Linked DNA regions of Homo sapiens: region 2 is linked to region 1. Evidence: promoter capture Hi-C in human tissues and cell types (Jung and others, 2019). All regions are on one chromosome and are shown on one strand. The core of a region is centred on a gene start or on the middle of the fragment in contact, and the rest is flanking DNA. Distances in the headings are between cores, read along the strand shown. Region 1 holds the start of POU2F3 (POU class 2 homeobox 3). Region 2 has its middle 11 kb from the start of OAF.

Evidence for each region. The method cuts DNA at HindIII sites, captures the fragments that hold promoters and counts their contacts. A contact is called where the count stands out against the background at its distance.
Region 2: a fragment that was not itself captured here is called in contact with the fragment with the promoter of POU2F3 in region 1 in 1 of the 25 tissues and cell types used here (liver).

What each region holds. Positions count from the first base shown.
Region 1 is chr11:120,238,716-120,241,415 of GRCh38, forward strand. POU2F3 (POU class 2 homeobox 3) reads left to right here and starts at 1,425. Exons shown (of 13, transcript NM_014352.4): 1 at 1,425-1,656. The coding sequence starts at 1,629. The HindIII fragment of the contact is 19,243 bases long and covers 1-2,700 here.
Region 2 is chr11:120,198,217-120,200,916 of GRCh38, forward strand. No RefSeq gene overlaps it. Among named protein-coding and RNA genes, the nearest start is that of OAF, 11 kb to the right of the region's middle. The HindIII fragment of the contact is 8,075 bases long and covers 1-2,700 here.

The DNA of each region.
Region 1 (2,700 bases), core at 175-2,674:
CTCAGCCACTCAGGAGGCTGAGGAGAATCGCTTGAACCCAGGAGGTGGAGGTTGCAGTGAGCCGAGATTGCACCACTGCACTCCAGCCTGGCAACAGAGCAAGACTCTGTCTAAAAAAAAAAAAAAAAAAAAAAAAAAAAGAACACGGAACTTAAACTCTCTAAGCCTCATTTTCCCCATCTATAAAATGGCAATAATCATAGTACAATGTACAGGTTTTGAGGACTAAACAAGAACTAAAGGCACGAAAGATGCCTTTCAAGTGTTGGTCACCCCAGTGCTTGATACACAGTGAAGGCACACGAAATGCTGGGTGTTATCGTGGGCATGACTGGAGTGCACGGTGGGATGGGCGTGCCAGGGGGAAAGGACACTGTAAACAAGGTGTAGAGGCAGGAAAGCCCAAAACCTGTTCTGTGCTCAGAAAGTAGCCCATGGGACTAAGGAGAAGACATGTTCATGAGGAGTCCTGTCTGGGAAGGAAAGCGAGGCCCTGCCCTCCTGTCTGCACACAGCTTTCTGGGCTTCCATGCAGGCCATCCTGTGGTGACAGACCACTTACTGGGACTTGAAGAGACGAAGAGAAAGGGGTGAGCCTATGATGGGTGCTGCAAAGAGCACTGGAGTGGGAGTCCAGAGACCTGATTCCAGCCAGGCTCTGTCACTAGGGAAGTGTGCACCTTTGAGCAAGCCGCTTCCCCGCTCTGGAAGGTGGCTGTCACCAAAAGCCTGGGCACTGGTAACTTCCACATCCATCATCTCGTAGAGCCTCACAGCAACCTGGGACCTGGGGCGGGAGACTGGAGGGGCAAGCAGGAAGCAGTTGTGTGCACCTGGAAACTCTGCTAATAATAAACTGCACCCCGTCTAAATCCCACAATGCTGTGAGGATGCCATGGGGGCTAGGTGAGCTTGGTCACCTGCTCAGCCCAATAGGGAACCCGATTAGCACCTGTCCTGTTTTACAGGTGAGTTAAATGAGCTCAGGGAGGTGAAGAACCTTGTCCCAGCCACACTGCTGGTAAGCGGTTGGGAGGCGAGATTCCAAAACTGAATTCTTTCCAGCAGACCCCCGCGACTTCTCCAAACACTCCAACTCCTTGCAGCGCTTACACTTCGCGATCTGTCCAGAAGGAAGCTCGGGCTCAGGCTGGAGAACCCGCCAGGGCTTCCTAAAAAGGGCGAGCAGGACCAGGAGTTGGCGCCACTCCGGGCGCGGTGAGGAGGTGCTGCCAGGCTGGGTTGGAGCAGGCAGGTGTTCCGCGGGATCGAGACCCGCCCCGGCAGCACCCCCGGCCCCCTCCCCAGGTCCCCAGCTCCATGTATGCAAATCACTGCTTTGCATGGGCCTGGGGCCAGGCGCGGGGCTCCTGCCAGGGGGCGTGGCCGGCGGCCCCCGCCCCGCGCCGCGTGCTCACCTGGGGAGTGTGGCAATCCTGGCGGCGCCGAGTGTTGCCCGGGCCGGAGCAGCGGAGCGCGCGACAGTGGCGGCGACGGCTCCGGCAGCGGCTCCCGCGGCGGCGGCGGCCGGGAACTGGAGGAAGGAGACCCTGGCTTCGCAGGGGCCCCGGCTGGGGCAGAGGCGAGGGGCCTGGGGGGGCGCTGGCTTTGGCCCCGCCTGGGGCAGGATGGTGAATCTGGAGTCCATGCACACAGGTGAGGGGCGGAGGGAATGAGCTCTGACAGGTGTCACTGCGCGTGGGCAGGGGTGAAGGAGAGGGACAACGTTCTGGTTAGGGAGGGGGGCTTGTTTCCCAGCGGCCAGGAGAGGGCGGTGTGGATAGCGGGTTGTCCTGGGGTGGGTGCCGGTCAGTATTTGGGGACTAAAGGGAGGGGATCTGGGATAAGAAACCCTGGAAAAGAATGAGGGTGGGGGCTGGTGAAGGGCGGGAGGGCTTCGAAGCCCCCGGTCTGGGGAGTGGCAGTTGTATGGGACGTGGGTGTACTGAACTGTCATAGTCTCAGGAGGTTGCAGGGATGGGTGGTTCACTCACTCAGCCAGGGGTGTGGACCTGGGAGTGCATAAGTGAGGGAAATGTGTATGTCCACATGCTGTGTGCTGGTGTCCGGGCATATGTGTGAAATGGAGGCAAAGCGGACATTTAGGTGGTTGGGGGGCTTAGGAGAAGTGGCTGAGGTGGGGCAATTACAGAGGTGCCCCTGGGGCAGGGGCCATGCCCCCATGTGTTTGAGAAGGGATGGTGACAGACACATCCTCTGGGTTCCATGTCCCATGCCTTCCTTCCCTAAGGGGTGGAAACCTAGGAGATGCAAATGCTTTGCCGGGAGTCAGGCTTCCCTGAATGAATGAATGAGAGGTGGGCATGGAGGGAACCCAGCCCCTCCATTCACCTTGCTGTTCCTCCTTCCACAGCTGGGCTAAGGCAGGAGCTGCCAGGCAGCCAGGTTGGGCTTGGCTTGGGGCTTCCTGTTAGGGTGGGCCTTCTGGAGGTCACAGGGCCTGAGCAAAGAACAAGTGAAGAAAGCGGTACCTGACCTGGCCATTTCTAACCTAGCAACTTACTCTCAAAGTGGGCAGGACCCAGTGATCTTTCTTTAGGATTTCGGGGCTGTTGATGGGAATGTTGTTACCTGGTCTCCTTTCTGGGAGAGTAGGGAGGAGGCAATGCTCCAGACCCACCCCAAGAAGCAGAGCAGGCCTGAGGCCTACCCAGCCTGAAAACAAGCGTCAGTGAGTGC
Region 2 (2,700 bases), core at 55-2,554, 41 kb before region 1:
GGAATGCCACAGATACCCTGAATCCTGCCTGGATTTCAGTGCCCTCTCACTGGGGTCTCAACGCGTCAGCCCAAATCAGCCTCCATTGTCTCTAGTTAAGAAATACGAGGCTTGGCTGGATGTGGTGGCTCATGCCTATAATTTCAACGTTTTGGGAGACCAGGGTGGGAAGATCACTGCACCCAGAATTTTGAGGTGAGGTTACAGTGAGCAATGATCATGCCCCTGCACTCCAGCCTGGGAAACAGAGCAAGACCCTGTCTCTAAAATAAATAAATAAGAGGCAGTATTGCCAATGGCCCCAGCACATATGAAAAATAGCTACCATTTATACAACAGTTATTAGATGCCTCTTCCTGTGCAGCCGAGGCCTCTGGCCACGTGGTCTTTTCTCTCTGCCCGGCTGCTCTGCTACAGGTCCAACCGAAGCAGAATGTCTGGCCTTGACCAGGAGACAGAGCAGTAGGGTGGGCAGCCCAGGGCGTTGAATATAGTACTTTTCTAAAGTCCCACAACAACCCAACAAGATGGGAATCATTACAGCCATTTTACTGACAAAAAACTGAAGCTTTACATCTTAGAGGTTTAAGTCCAAGGCCACACAGCTAGAATGTGACAGAGCCACAATTCAGACTTGGGACTGATTCCACAGTCCTCACTACGTGACCCATTTGCCCATCTGTAAGCAAGACAGAAGTTGGGAAAGGCTGACTGATAACCATGAAATGACCAGAGGCCCACCAGTTCCTAGAAATCTGAAGTTTGCTCAAAGCTGCCCCACAGTCATGCTGGAGACAGGTTCCAGGGGGCAAGATCCTGACCATGTGTTTATAATGTCCCTGCCAGCTGCACACACGCCCTGCCCACCTCCATCCCCTCCTCAGAGGTAAGAGGAGTCCACAGCAGAGAAGGAGGCCAGCACTGTCTAGGAGGACACAGGGTGTAGGTTCTCCCCAAGGCTGCTGACCCTGGAGAAGGGAAGGGTCTGTCCCTGCCCCGCCCTGCCCTGCCCCATCTCCCCATTGCCTCATCCTCTCTGGGAACGGGAAGTCCATGACCAGGTCCAAAGGCACAGTGGGAAGAAGGAGTCCGGGGCTGCAGGCTTGCGGTTGTCTCCCGCTGCCAGCAACTCTGCGGGCCCAATGGAGAAGAAAATGCCCAGGCCTGGGCATGAAGCCAAGACAAGGGGGACCCTGGGCTGTGTGGCCATAGAAGGCTCTAGAGAGCGGGAGCAGGAGCTCAGACTTTGGAGCCAGATGGCCTGGGTGTGCCCCTAGTTCTGCCACACTAGCTGTGTGACCTTGCTCCAAACCCCAGGCCTCACTTTCCTCCTCTGTGAAAGGAGGGAAATAGTAATCCTAGCTGCTGGAGCACAAGTGGGTATTAAGTGGGGTGCTGGATGTAAAGCACGCGGGTTGATCAAGAAACACCAGCTACTGCTGTTCCAGGTTCCAGTTCCCAAGCCACTATCATTCCAGGTCTCAGCCTCCCGATGCTTACTACAGGTAGAAAGATCCTTTTGGTTGAAACCAGTCACTTCCTGCAGGTCTCCGCAAACCTCTCATTCTAGGGACCCAAGGGACCATAGAAGTGTTAATTAGCCAAGCCTTAAGACAGGCCTAGGCAGAGGGAGCCTCGTTAACATTAATTGGTACTCTCAGATCTTCGCCCAGTCAGGATGGAGCAGCGCATGCTGGGACAGCCTCTCTGCTCTTGGGGTTCACAATCTGCCCAAGACTGTGCCCCCAGCACAGCTGCAGTAGAGGGGACAGCCAGCGACCCCTCCGCTCCCTCCCCCCTCACAGGGCCCAGCATTCAAGAGAGGCAGGGGGAGCCAGGGCAGAGGGAGGGAGGGAACTAACCTCTCCTGCAGAAGGGTCAGAACCGTGATCTTGGTCCAACCAACAGTCTTGGAGGCAACCATGATGCGGGCACTTTGCTGCATACCAATGCCAAAGGCTGTGCCTGGGAGGAGATGCCAGTCTCTATCAATGGCTGTCAACCTAATTTAATGAGCCGAAGGAGCCTGTTTAAAATGCAGAGTCCCAGGCAATGCCCTCCATGGTTGAGGTCCAGGAACCTGTATTTTTAACAAGCACGCTTTAAAGCAGGACCACACTTTAAAGAACTGATGTTTGTATAGCCAGTATGACTTAGTGTAAAGCAAGGCACACAGTAGGTATATAATAAATGCTGATTGATGAAATGAATGAGTGAGTGAGCAGAGCATGAAGAGACCATGAATGATTCTACAAAATATGAGCAGAAGATCTGCCTTTCCCCAGGAATTCTCCCCTAGGTAAGAGGTGGGCTCTTCATCTCTGTTTCACTTCTTTTTGTGGTTGGGACCAGACTTTTTCTACTGAACTTGTACACTGCTATCTCAATTCTAAGAGAATTTTAGTCCACACAGAAGAAACCCCACATAATCCCTCTCCCACCTCAAATCTACCCACAGAGGTTAGGAATCCCTGAGAATTCTATTTCCAGAAAAATGCAAATATATACACAAGGTTTTTTTATATTGTAATTTCCAAGAGTTCTGGACCCTGAAGCAAATTCATGGTTAAGGATCCCTGCTGGGGACATCCTTTGATCTGTGAATCATTGTTAACAGCAGGGAGCAGAACAAAGGTACAGGAAAGAGGACCTGGGCCAAGGAAGGGCTGCTAGGGCTTCATCCCTGGGTCAGGAAGCCAG